3 separate regions of the Homo sapiens genome follow, and all the other regions are linked to region 1. The links are contacts of gene promoters, found by promoter capture Hi-C in human tissues and cell types (Jung and others, 2019). All regions are on one chromosome and are shown on one strand. Each heading gives the region's core, a stretch centred on a gene start or on the middle of the fragment in contact. The rest is flanking DNA. Distances are from core to core; before and after follow the strand shown. Region 1 holds the start of RELA (RELA proto-oncogene, NF-kB subunit). Region 2 holds the start of AP5B1 (adaptor related protein complex 5 subunit beta 1). Region 3 has its middle 16 kb from the start of RNASEH2C.

The links. The method cuts DNA at HindIII sites, captures the fragments that hold promoters and counts their contacts. A contact is called where the count stands out against the background at its distance.
Region 2: a contact is called between the fragment with the promoter of AP5B1 here and the fragment with the promoter of RELA in region 1, in 4 of the 25 tissues and cell types used here (dorsolateral prefrontal cortex, heart right ventricle, lymphoblastoid cells and 1 more).
Region 3: a contact is called between a fragment that was not itself captured here and the fragment with the promoter of RELA in region 1, in 3 of the 25 tissues and cell types used here (aorta, lymphoblastoid cells and mesenchymal stem cells).

What each region holds. Positions count from the first base shown.
Region 1 is chr11:65,661,247-65,664,165 of GRCh38, forward strand. It overlaps RELA (RELA proto-oncogene, NF-kB subunit), which reads right to left and starts at 1,670. Exons shown (of 11, transcript NM_021975.4): 1 at 1,580-1,670; 2 at 933-959; 3 at 691-842; 4 at 441-589. The coding sequence starts at 1,586. It overlaps RELA-DT (RELA divergent transcript), which reads left to right and starts at 1,760. Exons shown (of 4, transcript NR_183625.1): 1 at 1,760-1,902. RefSeq lists silencers at 1,357-1,416, 1,477-1,886 and an enhancer at 1,977-2,176. The HindIII fragment of the contact is 29,460 bases long and covers 1-2,919 here.
Region 2 is chr11:65,779,615-65,782,533 of GRCh38, forward strand. AP5B1 (adaptor related protein complex 5 subunit beta 1) reads right to left here and starts at 1,362. Exons shown (of 2, transcript NM_138368.5): 1 at 828-1,362; 2 at 1-728. The coding sequence starts at 977. RefSeq lists silencers at 436-705, 856-1,035, 1,076-1,815 and enhancers at 444-1,346, 2,076-2,733. The HindIII fragment of the contact is 21,769 bases long and covers 1-2,919 here.
Region 3 is chr11:65,735,008-65,737,926 of GRCh38, forward strand. No RefSeq gene overlaps it. Among named protein-coding and RNA genes, the nearest start is that of RNASEH2C, 16 kb to the left of the region's middle. The HindIII fragment of the contact is 9,114 bases long and covers 1-2,919 here.

The DNA.
Region 1 (2,919 bases), core at 420-2,919:
GAATTCCTAGGCTCAAGAGATCTTCCTGCCTTGGCCTCCCGAAGTGCTAGGATTATAAGCATGAGCCACTATGCCCGGCCTGTATATTTTTTTACAGCCTGTCTCTGTCAACTGCAATGTCAACTCCAGGGGAGAGTGCTGGTTCAATGGTTTTCTTCCTCAAACAAGAGACGTGACTCTGAGGGACTTGTCCTTCCAGCTACAGGGGTCAGGAATTCAGAAGTGATTAGGGACCCATCCGTATCCCCTGGAACTCATCTGCTAGAGTAAACGTACAAATAGATAATTTCAAGACAAAGGCAGTTTACTTGCAGAGCTGAGTCAGGGCAAGGAGTGAGGAATTCTGCCCTGGGTCCAGAAAGGAGTAACACTGTAGCGGCTACTTCATAGCCCGCCTCCTGTCCCCTCATGCTGGGCCTCCTAGCCTGCAGGGACCTCACCTGTGGATGCAGCGGTCCGGGCAGAGCTCAGCCTCATAGAAGCCATCCCGGCAGTCCTTTCCTACAAGCTCGTGGGGGTGAGGCCGGTGAGGAGGGTCCTTGGTGACCAGGGAGATGCGCACTGTCCCTGGTCCTGTGTAGCCATTGATCTGTCCAAAGTACAGAGGCCCAGACATCCAAACCTGACTCCCAAACACAGAGGGCTGGGGTTCCACAGTCCCTTCCCCGCACACCCTGGCGCAGTGCTGACCTTGATGGTGGGGTGGGTCTTGGTGGTATCTGTGCTCCTCTCGCCTGGGATGCTGCCCGCGGAGCGCCCCTCGCACTTGTAGCGGAAGCGCATGCCCCGCTGCTTGGGCTGCTCAATGATCTCCACATAGGGGCCAGAGGCCTGGGCTGGCTCTGCCAGGGGACACCGCAGCCCCATTAGGCGGCTGCCCCCACTGCCCTACCCCAGGGAGCACCTCCCCGACCGCCGCGGGGGCCACTTACCTGCCGGGAAGATGAGGGGGAACAGTTCTGAAAGGGGAGGGAGATCAGGGTCAGCACACACCCAATGCCCATTCTCACAAGGAGGAATCTGCTCTCCACGGAGAGGAGAAGCCAGGCTCCCTCCCAGGGGAACTGAGTCAGGACCTGCTCCCTAGAACCTGCGGTGAAACTAAGGGGTGGAGGAAAGGAACCAGAAACACCTGCTTCTTGAGGGAAAACGGGGTAAGGAATCCTTCTTCTCCAGAGGGAAGCTGAATCAGGGCCTGTTGTACTTTCTTAAGGAAAATTGAGGGAGGGCACGCCCCACCTCCCTCCAGAGAGGAAACTGAATCAGATGCGTTCTCCCCTAATAGGGAAACGAAGCCAGAGCTGCCCCCATGGACGGTGTGGAGGGAAACTGAGTCAAGGTTCCCTCTGCTCCCCCACCCAGGGAGGATGCTGAGTCAAGGGCCACCCCCTCCACCCAGAGGGGAAACTGAGTCAGACCCCTCCCCGCCTGCCCCGCCCCGCGCCACCATCCGGCAGGCCGACCGCTCCCTGCGCAGCGCCCGTCGGCGCAGGAAGGGGCGGAAAGCGGCGCGGGGGCTCCCGCCACAGCCGCGGCGGCCCCGGCGATGCCACCCCGCGGGGTCAGAGGGCGACCTCACCGTCCATGGCCGGGGTCCCGGGGGCGGGGCCGGGGTCGCAGCTGGGCCCGCGGCGTGCACTACAGACGAGCCATTCGCCAGAGGCGGAAATGCGCCGCGCGGCCCGCCGTCGCGTCACTGCCCGGAATCCGGCCGCGCCTGCGCGCTGCCCCGCCGCCGCCCGGCGCAGGGGCCGGGAGCAAGTGCACGCCGCGCGGAGGACGAAGAGGCTGCACGCACAGCCGCTGCCGGGGGTCGGGGCCAAGTGCGCGCCTCGCCGAGGACGAAGAGGCTGGCGTGCCCGGTGGCTCGGCTAGCTCCCGGGTCCCGGCCCCGCCTGGAGGGTGGGTCCGCCGATTACTCACTTTGTTTTTAGGGGATTTCAGGGCCCCCTCCCGCCGATCGGCGGAGTTTGGTGATGTCACTCTGGGCCGGGTCTGGAGCAAAGCCAGGGCTACTGGGCTGCGGCCGCCCGCCCCGCGCAGGGAAAAGCCCGACCGGGCCTTCTGCTCCGCAGAGGCCGGGTGGTTGAACTCCGCGCGGGTTTCCTAACCGCTAAAGGTGCCTTTCGGTGGTGGCTGTCTCAGAAGCACGTTAAAATGTCCTACCCACCCCAATCTAGATGCGGCTGTGGGGGAATGGGAGCGGCCGGACCTCCCAGCCTGACAGTGCATCAAGAGCTTTGCGGAGCCTACAGCCCGGATGGGACGACTGAGGCCCTCCCGCTGGCGAGCTGGCCGAGGGCTCGTCCCTCTCCAGCTAAAGCGCCAGCTTACGATACAGCCAAACTGCCGGCTCTCATCGGCTGTGGGAGCAGGAGGCCCCCAGGGGTAAATCCCGGAGCCTCGTCTCTGAAGCCTGGCGCTTGTGTCTCAGAAGGTGCGGGACCCACAGGGACACTTGAATCAGCAGGCTCACGACCCCCCACCCCCCTGCCCCCGCCTGTGTTTGCCCTGGACCTCCAGCTAGGGCTGACCACTAATTCTGTCATGTGACCCCACAGTGCAGGTAGCTCCCCCAAGACCAAGCCCAAGGCGCGTCCGTGTGGAGGCTGGGGCTGACGCACCCCCACCCCAGGCCTCATCCCCAAAGGAGGATGCTCCACTGCAGGGGGCGGAGTCTTCTCCAGATGGAGAAAGACTTTTTTATTTTCTCTGAATTCGTCTTAAATTAGGAAATCATGTGGGAATTGGAAAAGATTGGAAATTCTGACTTGTTTCCCAGGCTCTGAAGAAACAGGAAGAGAAAAGTGAAAATAGAGTTAGCACCCCGCCCACTCATTTCAGTTTCTCCAGTGGCTGGCCCTGATTAGAAAAGTGTTTACTTTTGGCAGGGGGCGGGGGAGGCCGACTTCAGGTGAC
Region 2 (2,919 bases), core at 112-2,611, 120 kb after region 1:
AGCAGCCACAGGAGCTGGGCCTGGGCCACAGGAGTGAGCAGATAGGAGGTGTCCAGAAGCTGGATCACCGCAGCCCGCAGCTCCCGCGCCTCCTCAGGGCTGTGCTCTCGTGCTGTAAGGCTACGCTCCCCCTCTCCCTCCTCAGCTGCCGGCCAGCTGGGTGCCTGGGGCTGAAGGCGTCCATCGCCCTCCTCCACTAGTGTCCAATCCCAGGGACCACCCCCAGTTGGGGAGACCTTATCCGTGAGCAGTCCCCCCAGGCCAGCCCCAACCCGGGACTGGAGCACCAAGGTGTTGCGCAAAGCGAGGGCCAGCAACAGGCTGAGTGGCTGGACAGGGCCTTCCTGCCCCAGCAGGCCCCGCAGCAACCCCAGGGAGCCCCCCAGCAGCCCGGGCTTGCAGCTCTCTAGCTCTCGCAGGCACTCGCAGGCCGTGGCCTGCAAGGGGCGCTGTTCCGAGGCGGGGACAAAGCCTCGCCCCAGATCGCTACCCGCGGCCAGGCCGAGCAGTAGGGGCAGGAGCCGGCAGGAGGCGCCCGAGGTGGGGCCCAGCGCGCCGCCCGCCGCCAGGGCAGTGGTGGCCGCCAGCAGCAGTGGCCGACGGAGAGCTGAGGGCCGCGGGGGTAGGAGGACCAAGGTGTCCAACAGGGAGGTGGCGGCCACTTCGGCCGCAGAGGCGTCGGGCCACAGCTGCGCAGGGTACTCCATGCTCAGGGCCAGCAGGGAAACCTGGATGGGGGATTAGGAGGGAATCACGAAGATGAGGTTCATGACGCGGCGGGCTGGGGTGACCCTGCGGAACGGCGCAGGGGACGCGTGGGGGCCTACCTTGGTCTGTTCGCTCAGCTTCTCACTTCTCAGGTCGCTCAGCAGGTCGCGACCCAAATCCTCCCCCTCGGGACCTGCCATGAAGGCAGACGGGCTGGCCCGGAAGGCCCCCAAGCGCTGGGCCCAGGCGTCCCGGCTCAGGGGCCCCATGGTGAGGCGCGCGGGCCCCTGCGCAGGGAAGAGGGACCCTCAGGCCGCAGCCACCGGGAGCGCGGGGCCCGCTGCCGACCCCGAGGGGCTGCGGTCACCCCCAGACGCCGCGCAGATGCCGGCGGGACCCGCGCCCGGCTCCCACGGTGAGACCAGGGCTCTCGGGGCCGACGCCAGAGCTGGGCGCCGGGGCCCTCGCGGGACAGGACAGGAGCAGGGCGGGGGAGGGTGCGTGCCGAGAGCTCGTTAGGCCGCCTCCCTCCCGCCCGCGGCCCGCACCGAAACCACAGCGCCACCCCGGCCCCCGGCGCCGGCGGTAACGGGCCGCGCTCGCCGCCTGACTCAGCCGCCGCGGGCACTCAGGCCGGCCGGCTCCTTCCGGGCTGGCGGCGCGGGGCGGGGCGCGGCGCGGGGGCGGCCGAGTCCGGGCGGGGAGGGGCGGGGCGTAACGGGGCCACCGCCTCCCGCAGGTGTCGACTCGCAGGTTTCGCGGGGGCTGACTAACTGTCCCGCCGCGCAGGCCCCCTTCCCCGAAACCGCCGCAGGCCGGGGCAGGAAAGGCGGAGGGGAGTGGGTAGGGGTGGCGGAGCGGGGTGGGCCTGGGCCCCAGATGCCGGGTACCGCGGCGCAGGGCTGCGATCCCGCGGCCCTCGGCGGACAGCGGCCCGGTCCCACCAGCGCCCGCCAAGCCGCGCAGGGCGGCAGCCAGCGCGCCCCCCGCCGGCGCCCGGGCACACCGCACCCTGCGCCAGACGCGCGGCCCCGGGGGGCGTGGGTGCGGGTCCTGGGGCTCCCGGAGTGGCCCCTGGGGGTGACCAAGGTGCGGTCGCAGGGCGCCCGCAGGAAAAGCGCCCCAGCTGAACCGGTCCGGCGGGCGCCGCAGGGCTTGGCTTCGCTTCCCTGACGCCTGCCCGGGCCCCCAGCCCGCTCGGCTTGGGGGCGAGGAGCCGGCGCCGCGGTTGCGGCCAGCCAGGAGCTTCTGACCTTTGTTTGCCCGAGGCCGCGCTGGCGGCCCGCAGGGGTCGTGACGGCGAGGGCGGGGCAGGGCCCTAAGTCGAAAACAACGGGATCCATACTCGGGAAGTGCGGGCTGTCAGGGCCTGGCCGGTCACGGGGCTCGAGGCATGCCTAGCGATGGGGAAAACAGGCCCAGGAGGAGGGCGGCCTTGCCAACCGAGATCTGGGGCCAAGCCGGGCCGGAACCCAGCACTCCAGACTTCAGTGGGCTGGATTCTGGCTGTTTGGGGGCATTCGGGGGTCTGGGCGGCGGTCTCTCCCAGGCCAGAGGCCCAGGTTGCAGGTGCCCCACAGACCACCGGTTTCCAGGGCACAGAACCGCCGGCGCCCAAACCTCACCACCCCTCTGGCTCCAATTAGCCGCTTTGAAGATGAAACAGGCCTGAGCCCCCATGCAAGCCAGTGCCAGCTGGCCTCTCCCTACCCCATCCTGCTCCAGATGGGAGGTGGTGGAGAGTTGAGGGGTGGAGAGTGCCAAAAAGGAGGCTGTCTGGGTGCCCTTGGGGATGGAGAGATAGAGACCCACTCGGAGGGACAGGTCCAGCCAGAAGGCCCGGTCCCGGCTCCTCTAGGCCCTGGCTCCACAGTTGACTCACAGGCAGCAGCCCCAAACTACTTCCCTCTAGGTGCCTCAGTTTCCCCATCTATAAAATGGGAGTGATAACTCCCACCCAAGAGGCTGTGGGGTGAGGCAGCCTGGCTAATTAAACCCAAGATGAAAGAGGCAGGATGAGAGCAGCCCTGGGGAGGGGAGGCAGCCTGCAGTAGGAGCCAGTCTGGTTTCTCTGTCTGAGCCCAGAGGGTGCTGGTAACTGCACATCCCCGGCCCTCACCACCCTCACGGTGAGGCAGGAATGATCATTAAACTTCTTGCAGAGTTGAGAAGACAGGTTTCCAAGGATCAGGGGGCCTGACACTGGCTCTG
Region 3 (2,919 bases), core at 224-2,723, 74 kb after region 1:
CCATCTCTACCCCCCCAAAAAAAATTAGTCAGGTGTGGTGATGCACACCTGTAGCTCCAGCTACTGGAGAGGCTGATGCAGGAGGATCACTTGAGCCCAGGAGTTCAAGACTACAGTGAGCCATGATTGTGCCACTACACTCCAGCCTGGGTGGCAGAGTAAGACCCCATCTCTAATACAATACAGTAATATAAAAATGTTGTAGAATGCAAAGTATTGTTCCTGGGTGTGTCTGTGAGGGTGTTGCCAAAGGAGATTAACATTTGAGTCAGTGGACTGGGAGAAGCAGACCCACCCTTAGTCTGGCGTGGCACCATCTAATCAGCTGCCAGCACAGCTAGATTAAAACAGGCAGAAGAACATGGAAGGACTTGACTTGCTGAGCCTTCCGGCTTTCATCTTTCTCCCTTGCTGGATGTTTCCTGCCCTCGAACATCAGACTCCAAGTTCTTCAGCTTTTGGACTCTTGGACTTACACCAGTGGTTTGCAGCTCTCGGGCCTTTGTTCACAGACTGAAGGCTGCACTGTTGGCTTCCCTACTTTTGAGGTTTTGGGTCTTGGACTGGCTTCCCTGATCCTCAGCTTGCAGACAGCCTATTGTGGGACTTCACCTTGTGATCATGTGAATCATTACTCCTCAATAAACTCCCCTTCATATATACATCTATCCTATTAGTTCTGTCCCTTTAGAGAACTCTAATATACCTGTCTAACTGAAACTTTGTACCTTTTGAGCAATATCTTCCCATTTCCCACTCTCCCATGCCCCTAGCCTCTGGTAATCTCTGGATACCTGATCTAAGGGGTCCAACAGGATATTTTCATTTTTCAGGTCATAAGATGGGATGGGTTGAAACCTTGTGCCAGCATCATCTTTATGTGGAATCTAGAAGACATAAACTTAAGTAGGAGGTCAACAGGAAAATTATAATTTGGAGGATGAGAAAATTAATGCATCTATGCCCATGGCATCATGTTTTTTATCTTTGTGTTTGTGAAACAACAGCTTTAAGTCTTATAGGAGCTCACAGGTGTAAATCATGGTGTCCTCCTCTTATGCCGTCAGGGATTCATAAGAAACAGATTTAATCTTGGACAGGTGTACCCAACTAGTGATTCCCTGAAGTTTAACAGCAGGGAAGGTACTTAACAATACCTGATAGGGGCTCTTCCATTTGGGTTGTAATTGATCCTCTGGGGATCCTTTTTAACAAAAAGTTTTTTGTAAGACTAGGTGTTCAGGTTGAACAGAGGAGCTATTTCTTTCCTATGTGGGAAAGGGAAGTACTTTGTTATTATAATTTTTGAAGGGCCTTTGTGCCTAGCCTAAATTCTAAGGGGTGGCACAGTGAGGCATGTTTGGCCCCCTGTTTCCTGTCATGGTCTGACTTCTTTTTTTTTGAAGGCTTCTTTGGAATTCCCTTTGGCTAAGGGACTTAGAGTCAAAAGACTTATAGCCAATTAAACATCCTAGGTCAGAAGGAAATGGAGGTGAGCAGGCACTCATTTGCCCTTAAAATCTTTTAAAGCAATATAAGAGTCAAAAACTAAATGCCAATAATAAGGTTATATGTAAAAAAAAAAAAAAAACAGCATAGAATCAAGCTATATTCGGGGAAAACACTGTTTTCGCAGACCTCTAAGACAAAACATTTTAGTACCAGGGCCCAATAGTCAGAACCAGAGGAAAAAAAGTCACAATGTTGATGAAAAGGTTGATGGAAAGAGCCATCATCCCAGGCCTTCTTAAAGGGAGAAAGAATTGAAAGTAGTGAGACACAACAACAGTTGAATCTCTGAGACATGAATCCAAGACATTTTAAAATAAACCAGGTAGATTATTAAAAGCAAAACTTCCTGTAATTTAGCAAATCAATACCTTAAGAAAACCTGTTGCCAATATATAGACCATTCTCTAGAAAGTCTACCACAGTTTTCCTTTAGTCATAGTCAGCTTAAGCTTAATCATACACAAAATTCCCCTTCACAAACCCCATCATGACCCACATGGACCATCTACAACATGCTTGGACTTTCTGACTTGTCCTATAGGACCCCTTCCTTAAAGAACTCATCATTTTACTCTAGGATAAGAATTTACTACACAAGATCCCTCCTCATATAAAATAACTTTGTATTCTTCCTTGTATCCTTCTTTATATCCTTCCTTGTATCCTTCTTTGTATTCTTCCTTGCAAAAAGTACATCTATCCATAACTTTCTTCATATCTCTCTTTTCTACTTACTGGTTCCTTCATATTTTGAACCTCTCTTTTAATAACTTCCAAATTAGACAAAAATTATTATTTTTCCCAATAAAAAACACACTTTCTTTGGCTTATTTTATATAAATCTAAAGAGCAAGAAATTCTGAACTGCTCATCAGACATTGGCACTCTATAGATGAGAACTATTTCACAGCTTTAAGATTTTCAACTATACATAAGCTCACTGTTTAAAAGCCATCCTAACCATTCTAAAGGCTACAAACATCAGAGGTTCATCTAGGTAAAAATCTTAAAGTTAAATTTTAGAAGACATAACATTCCCTTCAAACTAATAAATTTAGACTAGTCTTATTTTTTAATTTATGAATTCTCTTTTATTTATAAGCCAATTTGATAGTATGCTAAACACAACACCCATCACACAAATGAAGTGACCTACACAAGACAGATGGATCCAAGTTACTTATAAAATTGGGACCTGTCTATCTCAATACATTTTGTTTGCCCAGATACGTAGGGAAGACAGGAAGAGGCAGAGAAGGGACCCCATAGCATCAAATAAGGAAGGGAGGTGGTAAACCATGTTGCTCAAGGGGAGGTCTCAGAGTCCTTGAGCTACCAGAGCATCTAGCAGTGGAGACACCAAAGAAAAATGTTCTGGTGGCCACTTGTCTTCCACTGCAAAAAGCT